5 separate regions of the Homo sapiens genome follow, and regions 1, 2, 3 and 5 are each linked to region 4. Evidence: promoter capture Hi-C in human tissues and cell types (Jung and others, 2019). All regions are on one chromosome and are shown on one strand. Each heading gives the region's core, a stretch centred on a gene start or on the middle of the fragment in contact. The rest is flanking DNA. Distances are from core to core; before and after follow the strand shown. Region 1 overlaps ZNF763 (zinc finger protein 763). Region 2 has its middle 57 kb from the start of ZNF627. Region 3 has its middle 39 kb from the start of ZNF627. Region 4 holds the start of ZNF440 (zinc finger protein 440). Region 5 has its middle 8.5 kb from the start of ACP5.

Region 1 (5,180 bases), core at 2,129-4,628, 170 kb after region 4:
TGTAATAAAGCATTCCGTAGTTACAGATCCTATCTTAGACATAAAAGGAGTCACACGGGAGAGAAGCCTTATCAATGTAAGGAATGTAGAAAAGCATTCACGTATCCCAGTTCCCTTCGTAGACATGAAAGGACCCACTCTGCGAAAAAACCTTATGAATGTAAGCAGTGTGGGAAAGCATTATCTTATAAGTTTTCAAACACACCTAAGAATGCGCTCTGGAGAAAGACCTTATAAATGTTAGATATGTGGGAAAGGCCTTTATTCTGCCAAGTCATTTCGAAGACATGAAAAAACTCACACTGGAGAGAAACCCTATAAATGCATGCCATGTGGTAAAGCCTTCAATCTTTCCAGTTCCTTTCAGTATCATGAAAGGACTCACACTGGAGAGAAACCCTATGAGTGTAAGCAATGTGGGAAAGCCTTCAGATGTGCCCCACACCTTCGAAGGCATGGTAGGACTCACTGGAGAGAAACCCTATGAGTGTAAGGAATGTGGGAAAGCCTTCAGATCTGCCTCACACCTTCAAATTCATGAAAGGACACAAACACACATAAGAATACACTCTGGAGAAAGACCTTATAAATGTAAGACATGTGGGAAAGGCTTTTATTCTCCCACGTCATTTCAAAGACATGAAAAAACTCACACTGCAGAGAAACCCTATGAATGCAAGCAATGTGGTAAAGCCTTCAGTAGTTCCAGTTCCTTTTGGTACCATGAAAGGACTCACACTGGAGAGAAACCCTATGAGTGTAAGCAATGTGGGAAAGCCTTCAGATCTGCCTCAATCCTTCAAATGCATGCTGGGACTCACCCTGAAGAGAAGCCCTACGAGTGTAAGCAATGTGGGAAAGCCTTCAGATCTGCCCCACACCTTCGAATCCATGGTAGAACTCACACTGGAGAGAAACCCTATGAGTGTAAGGAATGTGGGAAAGCCTTCAGATCTGCCAAGAACCTTCGAATTCATGAAAGGACACAAACACACGTAAGAATGCACTCTGTAGAAAGACCTTATAAATGTAAGATATGTGGGAAAGGCTTTTATTCTGCCAAGTCATTTCAAATACCTGAAAAATCTTACACTGGAGAGAAACCCTATGAGTGTAAGCAATGTGGGAAAGCCTTTATTTCTTTCACTTCTTTTCGATAACATGAAAGGACTCACACTGGAGAGAAACCCTATGAGTGTAAGCAATGTGGAAAAACCTTCAGATCTACCTCACACCTTCGAAAACATGGTAGGACTCACACTGGATAGAAACCAAAGCAGGTGAATCACCTGAGGTCAGGAGTTCAAGACTGGCCTGATCAATATGATGAAACCCCTGTCTCTACTAAAACTACAAAAATTGGCCAGGCGTGGTGGCCTGCTTCTGTAATCCTAGCTAGTTGGGAGGCTGGCACAGGAGAATCGCTTGAATCTGGGGGGCAGAGGTTGCAGTGAGCCAAGATTGTGCCATTGCACTCTAGCCTGGGCAACAGGAGCAAAACTCCGTCTCAAAAAAAAAAAAAAAAAAGACTTGGCCTTGTGGTGAGGGGATGTCAGCTCTAGACTCCTGGAGCTGTTTTTGCCTTATTCTCTAAAGACTAAAATATTTCATAAAATGTATGGGTGCTGTTTACCAGAAAGTACGTTGGGTAAAACATAGAAATTCATTTATACCTTAGAAAGCTATTTTTTTCAGGTTGGTTTAGTGAGTCACAGGAAGCTAATAAATTACAATAATAATGTAAATTGTCTAAATACAGCCTTTTCTTTCTCTGATAATGTGCTGTTGATACTAACTTGTCAACAGCCTGTTTATTTCAGCCATGTAAAGTTAATGGCAACATGGAAAAGTCACTTTTATATGTTATGCAATGGCATGGAAAAATTCATTTTCATTAAGGTTCCAATGAAGCTGCTCTTCAGAAACGCTTATTTAAAACTCCCTAAGGTCAAAGTCCAGGCATCACGGGATGCAGCATCAATCACTGACCAAACCCTGTCTGTGTGTGGAGATGACATACCCAGTCCCAGATAATGTATCCACATCAGTGAAGGGTGGAATCATTGATTGTCAGATCACACAGCATGATTCACAGCAGGGAAGACAGGGCAGTGACAGAGGTGGGGGCACCTGAGCAGGTACGGTGGCTCACACCTGTAATCTTAGCACTTTGGGAGGCCAAGGAGAGTGGATCACTTGAGGTCAGGAGTTCAAGACCAGCCTGGCCAACATGGTGAAACCTTAAGAAATAGATAAATTAGCTGGGCATCGTGGTGTAATCCCTGTAATCCCAGATACTCAGGAGGCTGAGGCAGGAGAATCGCTTGAGCCTGGGAGGTGGTTGTTACACTGAACTGAGATCACACCATTGCACTCTCCAACCTAGTCGACAGAGCAAGACTCTGTCTCAAAATGAAAAAAACAAGAGTTGGGTGCACCTGAATCCAACCCCTGCCTTATCCTCCCTTGAAGGCCAAATACACCCTGACACTTTTAACCAAACAGTAGAAACAACACCATCCACTTGACCCCAAATGTGACTTTCCACAGGATGCAAGCACAATGTTGGAATGGCCAATGACAGTGACAATGAAAGTGCAGGGTGAGGGTGATGAACAGGACACACTGGAGAGCCTGACATTGGCCTAGACTATGGAGGTGTCTTGATGTTTCACAAAAAGCCCAAGGACCAACCCAAAGAGACACTGGAGCACAGGCCCAAAGGGTGTTCATATGCCAGGAAGGCTACTAATTTTAGAAGGCAGTGATGGTGCCTGTTTGAGTCCGGATGCTTTATAACTTCTGCTTTTCTGCATCTGCTTAGACAAAGAAATCTGCAGTTTTTGAGTTTCAGTGTTTAGAAGTAAGTTATTTTAGCAATCTACACACTTGTGGTTTATTCTGAGCTAACTTCAGACACACAGCTACAGATAGGGAATATCACGAGTATTTCCAAGGCTAAAAGTCTTCATGAAGTCAGTGGGACCCTCTCATGGGAGGGTTTTAAGACCCACAATCAAAAAGGTGGGGAAACATTAGAGTGGAAAGAGGGCAGCAGGTCAGGGGCCTTCCCCAGAGGTCTAACACACCCAACATTATTACCCTGGATGAAAACCAATACATATCATAACACCACACACACTCTTCAATGTTTCACAGACAAAATGAAATGTATTCAAAGCTAAGCTTCCAGAATTCCACTTTACACAATAAGGTTTTAATATCACTCTGTGTTGATGTTAGGCAATTACTAAATAGCATTTTCTGGTTATCTATGGAAAATACCTTGATTTCTGGGATATGAAAATGCTCATTTTTAGATATGCTTGTTTTTGAACTTTTTTTAATAAAATAAGGTGAGAAAACAGGAAAAAAATTTTCAGATCAAGGAACTTAGGCGAATTAATAGGAGAAAAGTCATACAAATTTATTTAACATGTATATATGGGAGCCTTCAGAATGAGGACCCACCCAACAATAAGACAAAAAAGCTTACATACCATTCTGAGGCCAGGAAAAATGCAGACTTGGCATGGCCAAAAAAATTCCAGGTTTGGTGGGGAAGTCATTTTTAATGGCAAGACAGATTATGCTAAAGGAAAGGAAGAAGCTTGGCTAGCAAAGGAGACCTTGTTATGTAGATGAAGGCTCCCTCAGAGAGAATAGGTGGGAAATGCTGCTTTTCAGACTTTTATTTAGAATTTTAAGTAATAGAGTCAGGATTATGCTGTGTTGCCCAGGCTGTTCTCTAATTCTTTGTCTCAAGCAGTCCTCACAGCTCAGTCTCCCAAAGTGCTAGGATTCCAGGCATGAGTCACCATGTCCAGACAGGGTTTGTCCCCTTGTAAAGAATTATTCATTGCTGGGCACAGTGATTCACAGTGACGTCTGCCTGGCATCTGCCTGTAAAGGAAGCATGGCACCAGCATCTGCTCAGCTTCTGGTGAAGGCCTCAGGAAGCTTTCAATCATAGCGGAAGGTGAACGGGGAGCAGGCAGTCACATGGCGAAAGCAGGAGTGAGACAGAGAGAGTGGTGTAGGAAGGTGCAGCTCACTAGAACTCACTGATTATCACAAAGACAGCAACAAGCCATGAGAGAAACAAGCCATAGGTCCCCCTGACCCAAACAACTCCCATCAGGACTCACCTCCAACACTGGGGATTGCAGTTCCTCATGACATTGGGTGGGAACATACATTCAAACTATCACGTGACAATATTACTTCCCTCAGTTTATTAAAGAACAAGTGTTTCTAGCTCTTCAGTGCTGTTCAGTGATTTGGAATATGGACAGGGAAAACTTTGATAAATCAGGAATGGCTGCAGTGAGCCATGAACATAGAATCTAATAATTTTTAAACTAATTTTATAATAGCTGGGCATGGTGGCTCATGCCTGTGGTTCTAGCACTTTGAGAGGCCAAGGTGGGTGGATGACTTGAACCCAGGAGTCTGAGAACAGCCTGGGCAACATGGTGAAACCCTATCTCTACAAACTTTTTAGCCAGGATGGTGACATGCACCTGTAATCCCAGCTACTTGAGAGGCTGCAGTAGGAGAATCACCTGAACCCAAGAGGTTGAGGCTGCAGTGAGCTGTGATCATGCCATTGCACTCCAGCCTGGGTGATAGAGTGAGACCCTCATCTCCAAAAAAAACCCCATAATTTTATAATCAGGACTATTTTTTATGGATCTGTATTTTAAGAAAAAAATGGAAAGACCAGATCATTGAAGATCAGTACAAAAATCTCAGGAATAATCTAAGGTAAGTTTCCCTCACAAGATAAAGCATTCTCTCTCTAGAAAATCTTATACTGCCTGAAAATGTTTTGGTTTTTTTGGAGACAAGAGTTTCACTCTTGTTGCCCAGACTGGAGTGCAATGGCTCAATCGCGGCTCATCGCAACCTCCGCCTCCCAGGTTCAAGTGATTCTCCTGCCTCAGCCTCCCAAGTAGCTGGGATTACAGGCGCCCACCACCACGTCTGGCTAATTTTGAATTTTTAGTAGAGATGGGGTTACTCCATGTTGGTCGGGCTGGTCTCGAACTCCTGTCCTCAGGTGATCCGCCTGGCTTGGCCTCCCAAAGTGCTGCAATTACAGGCGTGAGCCATTGTGCCCGGCTGAAAATGTTTAAAATATGCAAATAAAAGAAATAAGACCAGCATCACATTTATTT
Region 2 (4,788 bases), core at 1-2,500, 160 kb before region 4:
ACCTTCAGCTGCCTCCACTCCTTCCAAACACATGAAAAGCCTCACACAGGAGAGAAACCCTATGATTGTAAGGAATGGGAAAAAACCTTCGATTCTCCCCAAACCGTTCGAAGATACAGGGTAGTGCACAGTGGAGATGGACCTTATAAATGTAAGTTTTGTGGGAAAGCCTTTGATAATCTCAGTTTATATCTCACACATGAAAGATCTCATACTGGACAGAAGCCATATGAATGTAATGAATGTGGGAAAGCCTTTGGTTTTCCCAGCTCCTTTCATAGACATGAAAGAATGCACACCGGGGAGAAACCATATGAATGTAAGCAATGTGGGAAAACCTTTAGTTGTTCCAGTTCCATTAAAAAACATGAAAGAATCCACACTGGAGAGAAGCCCTATGAATGCAAGCAATGTGGGAAAGCCTTCGCTTCTTCCAATTCCTTTCAGTATCATGAAAGGACTCACACTGGAGAGAAACCCTATGAATGTAAGCAATGTGGGAAAGCCTTTAATTGTTCCAGTTCCCTTAGAAAACATGCAAGAATTCACACTGGAGAGAAACCCTATATATGTAAACAATGTGGTAAAGCTTTTAGATTTCCCAGTTCTATTAAAAATCATGAAAAGACTCACACTGGAGAGAAGCCCTATGAATGTCAGGAATGTGGGAAAGCCTTCAGATATTCCAGTTCACTTCGAGTACATAAAAGAATTCACACTGGAGAGAAGCCGTATGAATGTGAGGACTGTGGGAAAGCCTTCAGTCATCCCACGACCTTTCATAGACATAAAATTACCCACACTGCAGAGAAACCTTATGAATGTCAGGAATGTGGGGAAGCCTTCCGTTATCCTGTTGCTTTTCGTAGACATAAAATTACCCACACTGCAGAGAAACTTTGAGTGTAAGGAATGTGGGAAAGCCTTCTGTTATCACAGTTCCCTTCAAAGACATGAAAGGACTCACAACGGAGAAAAGTTGTGTGGATATAAAAAATGTAAAGCCGGCTGGGTGCGGTGGCTGACGCCTGTAATCCCAGCACTTTGGGAGGCCAAGGCGGGCGGATCATGAGGTCAAGAGATTGAGACCATCATGGCCAACATGGTAAAACCCCATCTCTACTAAAAATACAAAAATTAGCTGGGCGTGGTGGCATGTGCCTGTAGTACCAGCTACTTGGGAGGCTGAGGCAGGAGAATTGCTTGAACCTGGGAGGTGGAGGTTGCAGTGAACCGAGATTGTGCCACTGTACTCCAGCCAGGTGACAGAGTGAGACTCCGTCTCAAAAAAAAAAAAAAAAAAAGTAAAGCCTTCCACTATTCCAGTACCTTCTGAAACCATGAAAGAACTGACACTTGAGAAAAACAATGATGTTAGGAACATGGGAAACCTTTCCTTTCTCTCTCAATCGTTTGAAGGCATATGGTGTGACATGCTGGCGATAGACCTCATAACTGTAAGGAACATGGAAAACGATTCTTGTTTTCCATGCTCCTTGTTTATTTTAGATACATGAAAGAATTTACTCTGGAGAGAAACTATGAGTGTAAAAAATGTGGTAACGCCTTGTGTAGTTTCTGTTTCTCTGAAATACTGTCATGTCCTGGTATTCTCAGGGGATTAGTTGCAGGCACCCCGCTCCCCACTTCAGAACATCTAAATCTGAAGATGCTCAAGTGCTTTATATAAAATGGTGTATTTTCCTAGAACCTAAGCACATCCTCTTGTACACTTTAAATCATCTCTAGGTTATCCATACTGCCTAATGCATTGTAAACGATATAAAAATAGTTGTTTCATTGTGTTATTTAGGGAATGCTGACAAGAAAAAACATCTGTAGATGTTTAATACAGATAACCATCACATGCCCACCTCCATAGTACAGGCCCACCTCATAGTATATGTCAGCTACAATGAAACATTTTCTTTTTTTTTTAAAAAACGTTTTGGATTGGTTTCATTTAATGGCCTCAAAAACACGTGTTAACATTCTCCAAATCCTTGGTTCTTCTCTCCTGATAACCCTCATGTGATGATTGCTCTGTGGTTCCTAAAGCTGCAGTGTGTTGAGGTGCTTAGATATGTGGCAGTGTAGATAAGTCAGGGGACATCAGTTTAACTTGAATTTTCTTTTTTTTTTTTTTTGAGATGGAGTCTTGCTCTGTCACCCAGGCTGGAGTGCAATGGTGTGATCTCGGCTCACTGCAACCTCCACCTCCTGGGCTCAAGTGATTCTCCTGCCTCAGCCTCCCAACCAGCTGGGATTACAGGTGCCCGCCACCACACCCGGCTAATTTTTGTATTTTTAGAAGAGATGGGGTTTCACCATGTTGGCCAGGCTGGTCTTGAACTCCTGACGTCGTGATCTGCCCACCTTGACCTCCCAAAGTGCTGGGACTACAGGAATGAGCCACCCTGCCCGGCCAGAATTTTCTTTCAGGACATCAGGAGGATCCTCTGCTGGAAGAACCAACATCTGATTGCAGATGTTGCCTCTTTGGTGGAAGGTCAGTAACACAAATCTTGGATCTGTGGTGTTTGAGGGCTGAAAATATTTAAGCATCGAACTTTCAGTCCTTTTTTTTTTTCTTTTTTTTTGAGATGGAGTCTCTGTCGCCCAGGCTGGAGTGCAGTGGCACGATCTCAGCTCACTGCAACCTCTGCCTCCCAGGTTCAAGCGATTCTCCTGCCTCAGCCTCCCAAATAGCTGGGATTACAGGCGCACACCACCATCCCCAGCTAAATTTTGTATTTGTAGCAGAGACAGGGTTTCATCATGTTGGCCAGGCTGGTCTTGAACTCCTGATCTCTGATGATCTGCCCACCTTGGCCTCCCAAAGTGCTGGGATTATAGGCGTGAGCCACCGCACCCTGCTGAAGTTTCAGTCTTCATAATTGCAGATGCTTTAGTTGGAAACGTTGTCATAGGAAAAGCTGTTTTTTCTTTCTCTTTGAATCATCAAACACATCTTGCAATGGTTTTGGCCATGTTATCTCTGGTGACCTGGAAGCGACTTTGATATTAAGCTTCAGAGTATGCTGAAACAAGTCAAGACTTTTGGTGATGTTAGGATGGTAAGCATGTATTTTGCATGTGAGGTCATAAATTTAGGGAGCAGGTAGAAAATTATTGCTTTATTTGTCCCCTGAAATTCATATTATTATTATTTTTTTGAGAGAGTTTTGCTCTTGTTGCCTAGGCTGGAGCGCAATGGCACAATCTTGGCTCAATGCAACCTCCACCTCCTGGTTTCAAGCGATTCTCCTGCCTCAGCCTCCCAAGTAGCTGAGACTGTAGGCATACGCCACCGTACCCGGCTAATTTTTTGTATTTAGTAGAGACAGGGTTTCACCATGTTGGTCAGGCTGGTCTCCAACTCCTGACCTCAGGTGATCCATGCACCTCGGCCTCCCAAAGTGCCGGGATTATAGAGATGCGCCACCACGCCCAGCCCTGAAATTCATATTTTGAAACCTTACTCCCTAATGTATGGAATGAGGAGATAGGATGCCTGGGAGGTAATTAGGATTACTTGGGATCATGAGGGTAGAGTTCTCAGGAATGGGACTATAAGGTTCCCTAGAGAGCTTGCATTTGCTCTCTATTATGTGAGGACACAATGAGATGAAAGCCTTCTTTGAACAAGGAAGCTTGCCCTTACCAGGCACTGAATCTACTATCACTTTGATCTTGGAGTTCACAATCTCCTGTATACTGAGGAGCAAATGTTAGGTGTTTAATACACCCAGCTTATGTCATTTTGTTTTAGGAGCCCCTGGTGGATAAAGCACAACCCCATTAAAAAATAGGTGAAGGAGTTGAATAGACATTTCTCTAATGAGGATGTACAAATAGACAATAATTACATAAAGAAGATGTTCAGCATCACTCATGGTTTAGGGACATGCAAATCAAGAGCAAAATGACATCTATATCCCCTCACCCTCATTAGTTTGCTTCTGTCCAAGAACAAAATAACATGCTGGCAACGATGTGGAATAGTGAGGACCCTTGTACACTATTGATGGAAATGCAAAATGTCACAACTACTTTTGAAAACTATATGGCAGGCCGGGTGCGGTGGCTCATGCCTGTAATCCCAGCACTTTGGGAGCCTGAAGTGGGCAGATCACCTGAGATTGGGAGTTGAAGACCAGCCTGACCAAGATGGAGAAACCCCATCTCTACTAAAAATACAAAAAAATTAGCCGGGCATGGTGGCCCATGCTTGTAATCCCAGCTACTCAGGAGGCTGAGGCAGGAGAATCACTTGAACCCGGGAGGCGGAGGTTACAGTGAGTGGAGATCGCGCCATTGCACTCCAGCCTGGGCAACAAGAGCGAAAGTCCATCTCAAAAAAAAAAACAAAAAAACAAAAAAAAAAACAACTGTGTGGCAGGTAATCAATACATTGAAAAAATGGAAATAACATCCACCATTTTTCCCTTCTGGGAATATAAGCAAAAGAATAGAGACGGGGGCCTGAAATGGGTATTTGTATACATGGTATAGCAGTATAACTTACCAATAGGGAAAATGTGGAAGCAACTCTCTTGTATATTGACAGATGGATGAATAAGCAAAAGGTAGTATATGCATAGGATAGACTATTACTCTGCCTTCAAACGGAAGGGTGACCTGACAAATGCTACAGCATTGATGAACTTGGAGCACATTATGCTAAGTGAAATAGTCCATTCATATAAAGACACACCTTATAAGGTCGAGTCACTTGATTTTTTACAACCTGTCTCCAGACATGGGCTCCTTAAACTCCAGACCCAA
Region 3 (5,468 bases), core at 1,259-3,758, 180 kb before region 4:
AAACCCATTTTTAAAGGAGAAATTCAAGCTGGCTGCAGAAATTTGCCTAAGTAGCAAGGAGCCAAATGTTAATCCCCAAGACCATGGGGAAAATGTCTCCAGGCCACATCAGACACGTTTACACAGCCCTTCCCATCACAGGCCCGGAGGCCCAGGAGGAAAAAGTGGTTTCACGGGCCAGGCCCAGGGTCCCCGTGCTGTGTGCAATGTAGGGACTTGGTGCCCTGTGTCCCAGCCACTCCAGCCGTGACTGAAAGGGGCGAACGTACAGCTTGGGCTGTGGCTTCAAAGGGTTGAAGCCCCAAGCCTTGGCAGCTTCCGCATGGTGTTGAGCCTGCAGGTACAAAGAAGTCATGAACTGAGGTTTGGGAACCTCCACCTAGATTTCAGAAGATGTATGGAAACACTTGGATGTCCAGGCAAAAGTTTACTGCAGAGGTGGGGTGCTCATGGAGAACCTCTGCTAGGGCAGTGCAGAAGGGAAATGTGGGGTCAGAGCCCCCCCTACAGAGTCTTTACTGGGGGCACTGCCTAGTGGAGCTGTGAGAAGAGGGCTACCATCCTCCAGACCCCAGAATGGTCGATCCACTGACAGCTTGCACTGTGCACCTGGAAAAGCTGCAGACACTCAACACCAGCCCGTGAAAGCAGCTGGGAGGGAGGCTGTACCTGCAAAGCCACAGGGGCAGAGCTGCCCAAGACCATGGGAACCCACCTCTTGCATCAGTGTGACCTGGATGTGAGACCTGGAGTCAAAGGAGATCATTTTGGAGCTTTAAAATTTGAGTGCCCTGCTGGATTTCAGACTTGCATGGGCCCTGTAACTCCTTTGTTTTGGCCAATTTCTCCCCTTTGGAATGGCTGTATTTACCCAATACCTGTACCCCCATTGTATCTAGGAAGCAACTAGCTTGCCTTTGATTTTACAGGCTCATAGGCGGGAGGGACTTGCCTTGTCTCAGATGAGACTTTGGACTGTGGACTTTGGGATTAATGCTGAAATGTGTTAAGACTTTGGGGTACTGTTGGGAAAGCATGATTGATTTTGAAATGTGAGGACATGAGATTTGGAGGGGTCAGGGGTAGAATGATATGGTTTGGCTGTGTCCACACCCAGATCTCAGCTTGAATTATATCTCCCAGAATTCCCACATGTTGTGGGAGGAATCCAGAGGTAGTAATTGAATCATGGGGGATGGTCTTTCCCCTGCTGTTCTCATAGTAGTGAGATGGGTTTATCAGGGATTTCTGCTTTTCCTTTTTCCTCATTTTCTCTTGCCGCTGCCATGTAAGAAGTGTCTTTTGCCTCCCGCCATGATTCTGAGGCCTCCCCAGCCATGTGAAACTGTAAGTCCAATTAAATATCTTTTTCTTTTTTTCTTTTCTTTTCTTTTCTTTCTTTTTTTTTTTTTTTGAGATGCAGTCTTGCTCTGTCACCCAGGCTGGAGTGCAGTGGCATGATGTCAGCTCACTGCAACCTCCGCCTCCCGGGTTCAAGCAATTCTTCTGCCTCAGCCTCCTGAGTAGCTGGGACTATAGGCTTGCACCACCATGCCTGGCTAATTTTTGTATTTTTAGTAGAGACGGGGTTTCACCATCTTGGCCAGGCTGGTCTCGAACTCCTGACCTCATGATCTGCCCACCTCAGCCTCCCAAAGCGTTGGGATTACAGACGTGAGCCACCGTGCCCGACCAACATCTTTTTCTTCCCAGCCTCAGGTATGTCTTTATCAGCAGTGTGAAAACGGACTAATACATGGTTATTACACATTGTATGCCTGTATTAAAATATCTCTTGTACCCAATAAATATATACACCTACTATGTACCCCCCCACACACAAAAGATAGCGTTCTTTGTGTTTTTAAATAGGTTTTGCCTTAAAGTCTAGTCAAGTATGATAATGGCATATCCACTCTTGTTCTCTTTTGGTTACTATTTGCGTGGAATACCTTTTTACCTCTGTATTAGGCTTTTCTTGCTTTGCCATAAAAATACCTGAGGCTGGATAATTGATAAAGAAATGTTTTATCAACTCATGTTTCTGCAAGCTTTATAGGAAGCATGGTGCTGGCATCTGCTCAGGTTCTGGGGAGGCCTCAGAGTTTTTACTTTTGGTGGAGGGTGAAGCCGGAGCAGGCCTCTCACGTGGCAAAATAGGAACGAGAGAGAGAGGTAGAGGGGAGGTGCCACACACTTTCAAACCACCAGACCTTGTGCGAACTCAGAAGAAGAGCTCACCTATCACTAAGGGGATGGCCCAAGCCATTCATTAGAGATCTGTCCCCATGATCCAAACACCTCCCACCAGGCCCTGCTTCCAACCTTGGGGATTGCAATTCAATGTGAGATTTTGCGGGGATGTACATTTAAAGTATATCATCTTCCATTCCATTTCGAGTATTTTTTGTCTTGGGGTATAAAATGAGTGTCTTGGTCATGCATTATGGCTCATGCCTGTAATCCCAGCATTTTTATTTTTTTAAGACGGAGTCTCGGCCGGGCGTGGTGGCTCAAGCCTGTAATCCCAGCACTTTGGGAGGCCGAGGCGGGCGGATCATGAGGTCAGAAGTTCAAGGCCGGCCTGACCAACATAGTGAAACCCTGTCTCTACTAAAAATACAAAAAATTAGCCGGGTGTGGTGGTGTGCACCTGTAATCCCAGCTACTCAGGAGGCTGAGGCAGGAGAATCGTGTGAACCCGGGATGCAGAAGTTGCAGTGAGCCGAGATTGTGACATTGCACTCCAGCCTGGGCGACAGTGGGAGACACTGTCTCAAAAAAAAAAAAAAAAAAAGATGGAGTCTCACTCTCGCCAGGCTGGAGTGCAGTGGCGTGATCTTGGCTCACAGCAACATCCGCCTCCCAGGTTCAAGTGATTCTCCTGCCTCAGCCTCCTGAGTAGCTGGGATTACAGGCTCGCGCCACCACACCCAGCTAATTTTTGTATTTTTAGTAGAGATAGGGTTTCACCATGTTGGTCAAGATGGCCTCGATCTCTTGACCTCGTGATCCACACGCCTCAGCCTCCCAAAGTGCTGGGATTACAGGCGTGAGCCACCGTGCCCGGCCATTCCTAGCATTTCTGGAGACTGAGGTGGGAAGACTGCTGGAGGCCAAGACTTCAAGTTCAGCGTGGGCAACATGGTGAGATCTTGTGTTGAGAAGAAATTTTTTAAAATTTACACAATTAATGACATTTTAATGTCATTCTATCAATCAATATTAGGTAAGTATTAGGTGTGACTGATATTCTGGATATGTATAAAATTAACTCAATATTTGAGATATGAAAGCTGCCAGGGCCAGGCGTGGTGGCTCACACCTGCAATCCCAGCACTTTGGGAGGCTGAGGCAGGCGGATCACCTGAGGTTAGGAGTTTGAGACCAGCCTGGCCAACATGGTGAAATCCCATCTCTACTAAAGATACAAAAAATTAGCCCAGCATGGTAGCATGCACCTGTAATCCCAGCTACTGGGGAGGCTGAGGCAGGAGAATCGCTTGAACCCAGGAGGTGGAGGTTGCAGTGAGCTGATATCGTGCCACTGCACTCCAGCCTGGGCAACAGAGTGAGACTCTGTCTCAAAAAAAAGAAAAGAAAACTGCCTTTTATTTTTAATTTTTTGTATTTTTATTTTTGAGACAGAATCTCACTCTGTCACCCAGGCTGGAATGCAGTGGCTCAATCACTCATCACTGCAACCCCAACTGATTCTGGGCTCAAGTGATTCTCCTGCCTCAACCACCCTAGTAGCTGGGACTATAGGCACATGCCACTACGCCTGGCTATTATTTAACTTAATTTTTTTTGGGGGGGGATGGAGTCTTGCTCTGTCACCTAGGCTGGAGTGCAGAGGCGTGAACTTGGCTCACTGCAACCTCTGCCTCCTGGGTTCAAGCAATTCTCCTGCCTCAGCCTCCCAAGTAGCTGGAATAACAGGTGGCCACCACCATGCCTGGCTAATTTTTGTTTTGTATTTTTAGTAGAGATGGAGTTTCACCATGTTGGCCAGACTGGTCTCAAACTCCTGACTTCAGGTATCCACCCACCTCAACCGCCCAAAGTGCTGGGATTACAGGCATGTGTCACCGCACCTGGCCCCGCCAATGTTTTTAACTTAAATTTTCATACTCATGCACGTAACTCCACATTCTCCTCTATTCACAGGCCCTGATAATCTCTATTCTACTTTATCCCTTTATGAATTTGACTATTCTAGGCACCTCATATAAGTGAAAGTATACAATATTTATTCTGGTGTCTCTGGCTTATTTCACTTAGCATAATGTTTTCAAGTTGCATGCATGTGTTAACGTGTCAGTAATTCATTGCTTTTTTGTGCCTGAAAATATTCTATTGTAGGGATAAATCACCCTTTGCTCATCCATTTGTTTGTTGATAAACATGTGGGTTTTTTCCACAGTAATATTCTGAATAAGGCTGCTATGAAATTGGTGTACATGTGTCTCTGTGTGTTGTGCTTTTGATTTTTTAGGATATATACCTAGGAGTTGAATAGTCACAGGGGAATTCTAAATTCACCTTTTTAAGGAACAGCCATACTGTTTTACACAGTGGCTGCAATGTTTTACATTCTCTACATCAGTGCACAAGGATTCCCGTTTCTCCATGTCCTCATCCACACTTATTATAATTTTTTTTTTTTTTTTTGAGACGGAGTCTCACTCTGTCGCCCAGGCTGGAGTGCAGTGGCACAATCACAGCTCACTGCAGCCTTGACTTCCCTGGCTCAAGTGATCCTCCCACTTGAGGATCACTGGGACCATAGGTGCTAAGATGGGACTACCGGTCTGACCCCTGCTTTCCATCGTGGCCTGAACTAGATTTCTAGATTTTCAGGTTTACTTTGGGATGCCCTTAGCCGAGAGGGGAATCCTTCAGTTTGGGAGAGAGGGGTGGGCTTTGAATTTTATTTTTGGTTTACACATAGAATAGCTGGAGTCGGAGTGTGATTTGATATATGTAGAAAATCTGTTAAGGTCAAGACCCATTGGATTACCTTATGGAGAAAAGGTTTATGAATTTGACAATTTATGTCAGTCAGTACCTTAAACTGACTCCAGGTGAGTTTCCTGCTGGTGAAAATGAAGGTCTGGGGCTGGGCGCGGTGTCCTTGTCTCTACAAAAATACCAACATTAGCCAGGCATGATGGCGGGTGTCTGTAATCCCAGCTACTCTGGAGGCTGAGGCGGGAGAATCCCTTGAACTCGGAAGGCGGAGGTTGCAGTGAGCGGAGATCGCGCTATCGCACCCCAGCCTGGGCGACAGAGCGAGACTCTGTCTCAAAAAAAAAAAAAAAAAAAAAAAAAGAGAGAATATGATGAAGGTCTGGAAGGAGAGAGTGTTGCCACACTATGCAGACAGGACAGGAAGGCATGTTGAGAGCCTAGAGTTAAATCCTTCAGTGTTCAGGCCTCATCACCAGGTTCTGATCGGTTCTGGG
Region 4 (5,270 bases), core at 2,529-5,028:
CTGACCTTGTGATCCACCTGCCTCGGCCTCCCAAAGTGCTGGGATTACAGGCGTGAGCTACTGCACCCAGCCCATTGCCTATCAGTTTTTATAGAGTGTCGCTTAGATCAAGAAAGAGATGGTAATACAGAGTTAGGTGTGTCTGAAACCAAACACGACCTCATCCTTCTCCCTTGAAGGCCAAATGCACTCTGAGAGTTTGGTTAGAGTACAAACAACGCCACCAACTTCACTCCAGATGTGATTTTCTACAGGAGGCGGGCACTGTGTTGGGATGGCCAGTGAAGGTAAGGAACACTAGAGGTGCAGGTTTAGGTGATGAACAGGACACAGCCTGGACATTATTAGCCTTGACTATGGAGGTGTCTTGATGTTTCTCAAATTGAGACCAGTCTGGCCAACAGGATACTGAACTGGTTTTCGATGGAAAAATTCATCTGTATAGGGATCTATTCGCTTCCTTTAAGTTTCAGTTTCGTTATGTGGCATTTAGCATGAGTGACTCCATTTTGGTCTGATCTGGTTTCTAAGTGCCTAGTGCAGAAGCTCAGTCCAAAACAATGGCCTCCCATAATGTTCATTTTAACATTTTCTTTATACTAATACATTATATCAGGTCACCTCAAATGTCACCTCCACAGAGGGTTCTTCCTCTCACCTCAGTTAGTCCTACTTCTTTCCATTCAGTTTTTTGTTACACTGCACTTTTTAGGATCTGGGAAATCTAATCAAAGTTCACAGGGTTTATTGCTTATTCTTTTTCTTTTTCTTTTTCTTTTTTTGAGACAGAGTCTCTCTTTGTCGCTGCCCAGGCTGGAGTGCAATGGTGTGATCTCGGCTCATTGCAACCTCCACCTTCCAGGTTCAAGCGATTCTCCTGCTTCAGCCTCCTTAGTAGCTGGGATTACAGGCATGCACCACCACACTCAGCTAATTTTTGTATTTTTAGTAGAGATGGGGTTTCACCATGTTGGCTAGGCTGGTCTCGAACTCCCAACCTCAGGTGATCCACTCACCTCAGCCTCCCAAAGTGCTGGGATTACAGGCATGACCACTATGCCCAGCCAGGTTCATTACTTTTTAAAAATCAATCTATGAAAAATTAAATTGGCCAGGCATGGTGCCTCAGAACCTGTAATCCCAGCACTTTAGGAAGCTAAAGTGGGAGGGTCACTTGAGGCCAGGAGTTGGAGAGCAGTCTGGGCAACACAGTGAAACCCCATCTGTACAAAAAATACAAAAATTCGCTGGGCTTGGTGGCGCACACCTGTGGTCCCAGGCTCTACTTGGGAGGCTGAGGTGGGAGAATTGCTTGAGTCCGGAAGATCAAGGCTGCAGTGAGCTCTGTTTGCACCACTGTACTCCAGCCTGGGTGACAGAGGGAGACCTTGTAAAAAAAAAAAAAGAAAGAAAGAAAGAAAGAAAGAAAGAAAGAGAGAGAGAGAGAGGGAGAGAGAGAAAGAAAGAAAGAAAGAAAGAAAGAAAGAAAGAAAGAAAGAAAGAAAGAAAGAAAGAAAGAAAGAAAGAAGAAAAGAAAAGAAAAATCATGTAAATGAAACCAAATTCAGTGATGTTACCTTAACTTTTTTTCTTTTTTCGGGTAGAGACAGGGTCCCACTATGTTGCCCAGGCTGGTCTCAAACTCCTGGCCTCAAGCGATCCTCCTACCTTGGCCTTCCAAAATGCTGGTATTACTGGTGTGAGCCACCACACCTGTCCTACCTTTATTTCTAATAACTGATATGCCTTACATTAAAAAGTCTTTTAGAAAACACCTTTGAGCCATTTTCCAGATAGGGGAAGTCAATGAAGCTCCCTCTTGTGGTGAGGGCGACTTTAACATCCACACATCCTGTCTGGGGGACTGGATTTCTGAGTTGTGCTGAGACTTAAGAGTGGAAAAAAAGTCTACTCTTTTTCCTCTGCTCTCACACAACACGGAATACTTCTGTGACCAAATGCAAATATTTGAGAAGTGTCCCCCACATGCCAAGCAAAGCATCAATTCTGCAACTGACTCCAGCTCGATGTCTTCTAGTTCCAACACTTTCTACCTTTACATAAGGTACAAAACTGCCTCAGAAATCATCTGACCATGTGTCCCGGTTTGCCAGTGATAATCCTTGATAGTACCTGTTGTCCCAACATAGTTTTTCATAGCACCTCATCTTGCCATGGTTATCTGTGTCTGAACAATGAATATGTATGAATACTTTCACACATAAGCAAAATTAGGTTTATTAAATGAAGTTTCCAGGAATGTTCAAATTTCAACACCTGATTTACCTTATCACAAGTTATGGCTGTGCTAATTTCTCCAGGAAATATTCACAGAATATTGAATTTATCATTGTAAGGTGTGGAGCAATGAAGATGCCCAAGAGGCCAGGCGCACACCTGTAATCCCAACACTTTGGGAGGCTGAGGCTGGAGGATCACTTAAGCTCAGGAGTTTGAGATCAACCTGAACAACCGAATGAGACCTCATCTCTACCAAAAATAAAAAACTAGCCAGGCATGGTGGCAGGCACTTGTAGTCCCACCTACTTAGGAGGCTGAGGTGGGAGGATTGCTTGAGTCTGGGAGGTTGAGGCTGCATTGAGTAGCCATCGCACCACTGCACTCCAGCTTGGGCGACAGAGTGAGACCCCGTCTCAAAAAAAGATGGCTAAAACATAATTTTTTTTTTTTTGAGATGGAGTCTCACTGTGTCTCAGGCTGGAATGCAGTGGCACGATCTTGGCTCACTGCAAACTCTGCCTCCCGGTTCAAGCAATTCTCCTGCCTCAGCCTTTCAAGTAGCTGGGATTACAGGCATGCGCCACCATTCCTGGCTAATTTTTGTATTTTTAGTAGAGATAGGATTTCACCATGTTGGCCAGGCTGGTCTTGAACTCCTGACCTCGTGATCCACCTGCCTCAGCCTCTCAAAGTGCTGGGATTACAGGCATGAGCCACCGCGCCCGGCCTGCCTAAATCATAATTTCTATGACAGAATTTCTCATTTACAGCTTCCCCTGAGACCATCTTTCATTTCAGTTAACCCTGCTCCTTGGGGGTTATATGTGAGATAAAAGTGCCATGCTATATCATGTTCCCTGGCTCAGTCCTACACAGCATGTCCTGAAAAATGGGTCTTCAGTCACTGTCAATGCACCAGGGATAGATATACATAGTACTGAGAGCCTCTAAATCTTTAATAAGTTCTGGCTTGGTTAGCTCCCTTACAAGGAAAACCTTGCTGGAGTCCATAGCAGTGTGAGGAAGCCTTGGCCATGCCTCATCCCATTTCCCGCACGCTGGAAGACATCTGCCTCTCTCTCCTGGTGCAGTCGTGCCTTGCCTGGTCTGGGCTCCCCTCCTGCTCTGAGGCAAGCGTATCTCTCCATTGAACACTGAGTCTGAAATGCCCTGCACACACTTGTGATCCCGTGCAGAAGGAAGGAGCAGGGACAGCCCCTTGAATGAGGAAGCTAACAGTGCCTCTTCTAACAATAAGGAGCAAGTCGCCTTGAAATGCAAATATCTGATGACCAGGGCTCAAGGAAGGCGCTCGCTTAGAGAGGCTGTTCGCTTAGAGAGGCTGCTCGCTTAGAGAGGCTGCTCGCTCAGAGACGCTGTGGCCAGAACAAGTCAGACATGATCTGCAGGACCCGGTTACCCAGGGCTTCTGCTGTCACTCAGCACGGAGGAGGCGGGGCCTGGCGCCCCATCCAATCAGGGGTGCTGGGGCGGGGCCCTGTCAACTGTCCATCCGGGGAAGGGGGAAGGGACAGTCGCCCTCCGTCCATTCCTTTAGTGCTGCGCCGACAGCGGTCAGGATCTCGGCTTTCTTGCTTCGAGAGGGACTAGGTGCCTCCACCAGAGCTTCTGTCGCTCTGTAACCTGCACTGTGACCTACACTAGTCGCGGGAGCCACGCAGAGGACGCCGGAACACCCTGGAAGCCGAGAAATGGTGTGTGTGAGGGGGCTGGCGTCCGGGCGACTGGGAGAGGGGCTGGAATCGGCCGGAACCGGCTGAGGCGGGACCCGGGCCTCCACGCGGCGACTCCGGGGTCGTGGACGCGAGTCCCCTCGGTCGCAGGGTGGGGCTGGGCCGGCAGCCGGGACCCCGGGCCTCCTGTCCCGTCCCTTCACGGCGACTGCGGCCCCGGCTCCGGAGCCTAATCTGGGCAGCTCCGCGTCTCCCCACATTATGCGGGGGCCACGGGAGGGATATGGGGGGATCCCGCCTCGGATATGGGGTTTGTTAGAAACAAGTGCCCGGTGCCGCAAAGAAAACCAGCATCTAGGCAGAAAATTCCTCAGCAAAGCAAATTTATTTCTACACAAGGGTGCAGCTTGCGCCAGTCACAAGAGCACAGCGAGCGGGGTAGGGCAGGGGTTTTTCTCCTTAACGCAGTTTCTAGCACTTCTGTGTCCTTTCCTCATTGGCTAGGGTTGGACCTCACAATCTAAACTAACTCGATAGGCTAAGGTTTAAAATTAAATAGGGTCTGGCCAGGCGCGGTGGGTCACGCCTGTAACCCCAGCACTTTGGGAGGCCGAGGCAGGCGGATCGCGAGGTCAGGAGATCGAGACCATCCCTGGCTAACACGGTGAAACCCCGTCTCCACTAAAAATACAAAAAAATTAACTGGGTATGGTGGCGGGCGCCTGTAGTTCCAGCTACTCGGGAGGCTGAGGCAGGAGAATGGCGTGAACCCGGGAGGTGGAGCTTGCAGTGAGCCGAGATCGCACCACTGTACTCCAGCCTGGGCAACAGAGCGAGACAACTGGGCAACTCCGTCACACACACACACACACACACACACACACACACACACACACAAATTAAATAGGGTCTATGAGACGGGAAGGAACAGGGACTGTCCGTTACTAGGCGGGAAGGCGTATCTGGACTTGTCTGGGCGCGGCAAAAGCGGGAAGGTTGTTTACAGAACAGGTAGCTAGGAGACAAGGAAGTCGGTCTCAAGAAACAAAGAACAGCTTACTAAAGCTTTTAGAAAAGTAATTTATCATCTCTGACAGGTTCGTGTGGGAGGAGTAGCGGTCTTTGGGGTCCCCAGTGCCCACTTTTTTCTGTTAAAAATTAAACTGAGGTACGTTAACAATTAAAGAGTTTAGGGCCGGGCGCGGTGGCTCACGCCTGTAATCCCAGCACTTTGGGAGGCCGAGGCGGGCGGATCAGGAAGTCAGGAGTTCAAGACCAGCCTGGCCAACATGGTGAAACCCCATCTCTACTAAAAATACAAAAATTAGCTGGGCA
Region 5 (4,903 bases), core at 1,444-3,943, 240 kb before region 4:
GCGATCTTGGCTCACTGCGAGCTCCACCTCCCAGGTTCACACCATTCTCCTGCCTCTCAGCCTCCCGAGTAGCTGGGACCACAGGCGCCCGCCACCACGCCCGGCTAATTTTTTTGTGCGTGTGTTTTTAGTAGAGATGGTTTCACCGTGTTAGCCAGGATGGTCTCGATCTCCTGACCTCGTGATCTGCCCTCCTCGGCCTCCCAAACCGCTGGGATTACAGGCATGAGCCACCGCGCCCGGCATTTTTTTTTTTTTTTTTGGAGACAGAGTCTCAGTCCATTGCCCAGGCTGGAGTGCAGTGGTGTGATCTCGACTCACTGCAACCTCCACCTCCCGGGTTCAAGCAGTTCTCCCACCTTAGCCTCCCAAGTATCTAGGGTTATAGGTGCACACCACCGTGTCTGGCTAATTTTTGTATTTTTTGGTAGAGGAGGGATTTCACCATGTTGACCAGGCTAGTCTCAAACTCCTGACTTCAGGTGATCTGCCCGCCTTGGCCTCCCAAAGTGCTGGGATTACAGGCGTGATGTACCATGCCCGAACACCATTTCTTAAAATAAATAAATTAGGCCGGGTGCGGTGGTTCATGGCTATAATCCCAGCACTTCAGGAAGCCGAGATGGACAGATTGCTTGAGCCCAGGAGTTCAAGACCAGCCTGGACAAAGTGGTGAAACCCCCTCTCTACAAAAAATACAAAAATTGGCTGGGTGCAGTGGCTCACGCCTGTAACCCCAGCACTTTGAGAGGCCGAGGTGGGTGGATCACGAGGTCAGGAGATCGAGACCATCCTGGTCAACATGGTGAAACCCCGTCTCTACTAAAAATACAAAATTAGCTGGGCATGGTGGCGCACTTACCTGTAGTCCCAGCTACTCGGGAGGCTGAGGCAGGAGAATCAATTGAACCTGGGAGGTGGAGGTTGCAGTGAGCCAAGATCAGGCCACTACACTCCAGCCTGGCGACAGAGCAAGACTCTGTCTCACGGTGAAACCCCGTCTCTACTAAAAAAAAAAAAAAAAAAAAAATTAGCCGGGCGTGGTGGCGGGCGCCTGTAGTCCCAGCTACTCGGAGAGGCTGAGGCAGGAGAATGGCGTGAACCCGGGAGGCGGAGCTTGCAGTGAGCCGAGGCTGCGCCACTGTACTCCAGCCTGGGTGACAGAGCGAGACTCCGTCTCAAAAAAAAAAAAAAAAAAAAAAAAAAAAAAAATTAGCCAGGTGTGGTGGTGTGTGCTTGTAGTCCCAGCTGTTCAGGAGGCTTAGGTGGGAGGGAGGATTGCTTGAGCCCCGGAGACGGAAGTTGCAGTGAGCTGTGATCACACTACTGTACTCCAGCCTGACAGCCTGGGCAACAGAGTGAGACCCTGTCTAAAAAACAGAAAAGTAAAGAAAAAAATAAAATAATTAATTAAGATGGCTGAGTGCTGGCTGGTGTTGTCTCCTCAGCAAGACAGAAGCTCCCTGAGGGCCAGCGCCCACCCTGATTTATTCCTCCTAGTGTCCTTGGGTCCCCAGCTGCCTGGCACAGAGCTTTGGTCCTTGGTGCTCGGTAGAAGTGTCTGGCTGATGTAGAGGAGGGAGCCTGAGTTACAATCCCCCCTCCCCTGCCACTCAGTCTTCGTGTGACATTGGATGTGTCACTTCTTCTTTCTGTGCTCTGGGCCATGAGAACGGGGTCCTTGGGCTATGATGGTGACCTCTGATTCAGACTCCTGCCTGTCTGGTGCCTCTGAGTCAGTGAGAAGAGCGCGGCTGTGACCTCCCTAGACTGTTGTGGTTAAGATTGAGGGACTGCCACTTCCTAGAAATTACCTTGGTCACAGTGGTTAAGCCGTCCAATCTAAGATAAATATTGTACCAAAAAAAATTAAAAAATAAAAACCCACAAAAACACGTCTGAGCTTCTGTAATAGCCTCTGAGAAGCAAGGATGATTCTGGCCCCTGCCTCATGGGCCAGGATCAGAAGTGACGGTAAATGGCAGCTGGAACAAACTCAGGATTACATTTTGGGGATTTGTTTGTTTGCTTGAGACAGAGTCTTGCTCTGTTGCCCAGGCTGGAGTGCAGTGGTACGACCTCGGCCCACTGCAACCTCCACCTCCTGGGTTCAAGTGATTCTCCTGTCTCAGCCTCCTGAGTAGCTGGAATTACAGGCGCCCGCCACAATGCCAGCTAATTTTTGTATTTTTAATGGAGACAGCGTTTTGCCATGTTGATCAGGCTGGTCTCGAACTCCTGATCTCAAGTGATCTGCCCGCCTCAGCCTCCCAAAGTGTTGGGATTACAGGTGTGAGCCACCACCCCTGGCCAGGATTGCATTTTGGAAAGATCACTGCTTAATTATAACAGTTGGCCAGACATGATGGCTCACACCTGTAATCCTGCATTTTGGGAGGCTAAGGAGGAAGAATCACTTGAGGTCAGGAGTTTGAGACCAGCCTAGGCAACATAGCAAGACCCCATCTCTACAAAACACACACACACAAAATTAACCAAGAGTGGTGGGGTGAAGCTGTGGTCCCAGCCACTCAGGAGGCAGAGGCAGGAGGATCCCTTGAGCTCAGGAGGTGGAAACTGCAGTGAGCTATGATTACACCATTGCACTCCAGCCTGGGCAACAGAGTGAGACACTGTTTCAAAAAAAACCAAAAAATTGTAACAGTAACACATACACCTTGTAACAAATTCAACAGTATTGACATCTATAAAGTAGCAAATTATACCAAGATACACACACACACACACACACACACACACACACACACGCGCGCGCGCAAAGTAACAAATAAGCCGGAGCAGTAGCTCATGCCTGTAATCTCAGCACTTTGGGAGGCCTAGGCGGGTGGATCACCTGAGGTCGGGAATTCAAGATCAGCCTGACCAACATGGAGAAACCCTGTCTCTACTAAAAAATACAAAATTAACCAGGCGTGGTGGCGCATGCCTGTAATCCCAGCTACTCAGGAGGCTGAGGCAGGAGAATCGCTTGAATCTGGGAGGCAGAGGTTGCTGTGAGCTGAGATCACGTCACTGCACTCCAGCCTGGACAGCAAGAGGGAAACTTCTTCTCAAAAAAAAAAAAATAAGTAAAATAACAAATGAAAGGTGACAATTTCACCAAGTGCCTCTCCCCAGAAGTAACCTCAGTTACTTTTTTTTTTTTTTGAGATAGTCTCCCAAACTGGAGTGCAGTGGCGTGATCACAGCTCACTGCAGCCTCCACTTCCCAGACAAGAACGATTCTCATGCCTCAGCCTCCCAAATAGCTGGGATTATAGGCATGCATCACCAGGCCTGACTCATTCTTTTGTATTTTTTAGTAGAGGTGGGTTTTTGCCATATTGGCCAGGCTGGTCTTGAACTCCTGTCCTCAAGTGATCTGCCTGCCCCTACCTACCAAAGTGCTGGGATTACAGGCATGAGCCACTGCACTCAGCCCTGTTTACATTTTGTCCAGATTCATTTCACTCCGCTAGGCAGGCAGCTGGAGCCAAACAACTGGGTCCCTGCCGTGTAGCAGTTGCAAGTGGCGGTTGAGGGTGGGCCAAAGGAGGGGTTCCTGTGCCTTGCCTAGCGCTAATGGCCTGGGTTGCCTGGGGGTGGGTGTTACTTAACTCTCCCTCAGAGGGGAACTGGGCTCCCCTGCAACTGTCACATCAGGTCTAGCACTCTGCTTTCAGTATAAGAAAAACAGGCCCTGAGATTTTTTTTTTTTTTTTTTTCCCCTGAAACGGAGTCTCATTCTGTTTCCCAGGCTGGATTGCAGTGGTGTGATCTCGGCTCACTGCAACCTCTGCCTCCTGGGTTCAAGCGATTCTCCTGCATCAGCCTCAGTAGCTGGGATTACAGGCACGTGCCACCATACCCAGCTAATTTTTTGTATTTTTAGTAGGGATGGGGTTTCACCATGTTGGCCAGGCTGGTCTCCAACTCCTGACCTCAAGTGATCTGCCTGCCTCAGCCTCTCAAAGTGCTGGGATTACAGGTGTGAGCCACTGTGCCCAGCCCTGAGATAATTCTCCTTCTAGAAGTTTTCTTACACATTACTTTCACAGCATTGGTCCAGGGACCACCACTGCAGCCTTGTTGGTAAGAGGGAAACAATTATTTATTTATTTATGTATTTTGAGAAAGAGTCTCGCTCTGTTGCTCAGTCTGGAGTGCAGTGGCGTCATATCGGCTCACTGCAACCTCCGCCTCCCGGGTTCAAGCAATTCTCTGCCTCAGCCTCCCAAGTAGCTGGGACTACAAGCACACGCCACCATGCCCAGCTAATTTTTGTATTTTTAGTAGAGACGGGGTTTCACTATATTGGTCAGGCTGGTCTCAAACTCCTGACCTCAGGTGATCCACCTGCCTCGGCCTCTGAAAGTGTTGGGATTACAGGTGTGAGCCACCATGCCTGGCCTAGAAGGAAAGATTTAAAAAGACCACGGCTGGGTGCGGTGGCTCACGCCTGTAATCCCAGCACTTTGAGAGGCCGAGGTGGGTGGATCATGAGGTCAGGAGTTCAAGACCAGCTTGGCAAAGATGGCGAAACCCCATCTCTACTAGAAATACAAAAATTAGCTGGGCATGGTGGCGTGTGCTTGTAGTCCCAGCTACTTGGGAGGCTGAGGCAGAGAATTGCTTGAACCCGGGAGGCGGAGGTTGCAGTGAGCCAAGATCGTGCCACTGCACTCCAGCCTGGCTGATGGAGTGAGACTCCATCTCAAAAAAAAAACCTCAATGAGGCTGAGCACTTTGGCACTTTGGCTCACGCCTGCAATCCCAGCACTTTGGGAGGTTGAGGCAGGAGGATCACCTGACCCTGTGAATTTGAGGCTGCAGTGAGCTATGATCCTGCCATTGCACTCTAGTCTGAGTGACAGAGCAAGATTCTGTCTCTCAAAACAACCCC

What was found. The method cuts DNA at HindIII sites, captures the fragments that hold promoters and counts their contacts. A contact is called where the count stands out against the background at its distance.
Region 1: a contact is called between a fragment that was not itself captured here and the fragment with the promoter of ZNF440 in region 4, in 1 of the 25 tissues and cell types used here (dorsolateral prefrontal cortex).
Region 2: a fragment that was not itself captured here is called in contact with the fragment with the promoter of ZNF440 in region 4 in 1 of the 25 tissues and cell types used here (H1 embryonic stem cells).
Region 3: a fragment that was not itself captured here is called in contact with the fragment with the promoter of ZNF440 in region 4 in 1 of the 25 tissues and cell types used here (H1 embryonic stem cells).
Region 5: a contact is called between a fragment that was not itself captured here and the fragment with the promoter of ZNF440 in region 4, in 1 of the 25 tissues and cell types used here (liver).

Annotation. Positions count from the first base shown.
Region 1 is chr19:11,978,873-11,984,052 of GRCh38, forward strand. ZNF763 (zinc finger protein 763) reads left to right here. Exons shown (of 4, transcript NM_001367172.2): 4 at 1-1,745. The coding sequence ends at 237. It also overlaps a transcript of ZNF69 not described here. Among named protein-coding and RNA genes, the nearest start is that of ZNF433-AS1, 6.2 kb to the right of the region's middle. The HindIII fragment of the contact is 4,224 bases long and covers 1,267-5,180 here.
Region 2 is chr19:11,651,903-11,656,690 of GRCh38, forward strand. It overlaps the pseudogene ZNF887P. Among named protein-coding and RNA genes, the nearest start is that of ZNF627, 57 kb to the left of the region's middle. The HindIII fragment of the contact is 4,182 bases long and covers 1-3,341 here.
Region 3 is chr19:11,633,262-11,638,729 of GRCh38, forward strand. No RefSeq gene overlaps it. Among named protein-coding and RNA genes, the nearest start is that of ZNF627, 39 kb to the left of the region's middle. The HindIII fragment of the contact is 6,249 bases long and covers 1-5,468 here.
Region 4 is chr19:11,810,495-11,815,764 of GRCh38, forward strand. It overlaps ZNF440 (zinc finger protein 440), which reads left to right and starts at 3,779. Exons shown (of 4, transcript NM_152357.3): 1 at 3,779-3,956. The coding sequence starts at 3,954. RefSeq lists silencers at 1,770-1,879, 3,614-3,693, 4,114-4,183. The HindIII fragment of the contact is 18,958 bases long and covers 1-5,270 here.
Region 5 is chr19:11,566,696-11,571,598 of GRCh38, forward strand. No RefSeq gene overlaps it. Among named protein-coding and RNA genes, the nearest start is that of ACP5, 8.5 kb to the right of the region's middle. RefSeq lists a silencer at 1,178-1,227 and an enhancer at 1,638-1,727. The HindIII fragment of the contact is 7,606 bases long and covers 1-4,903 here.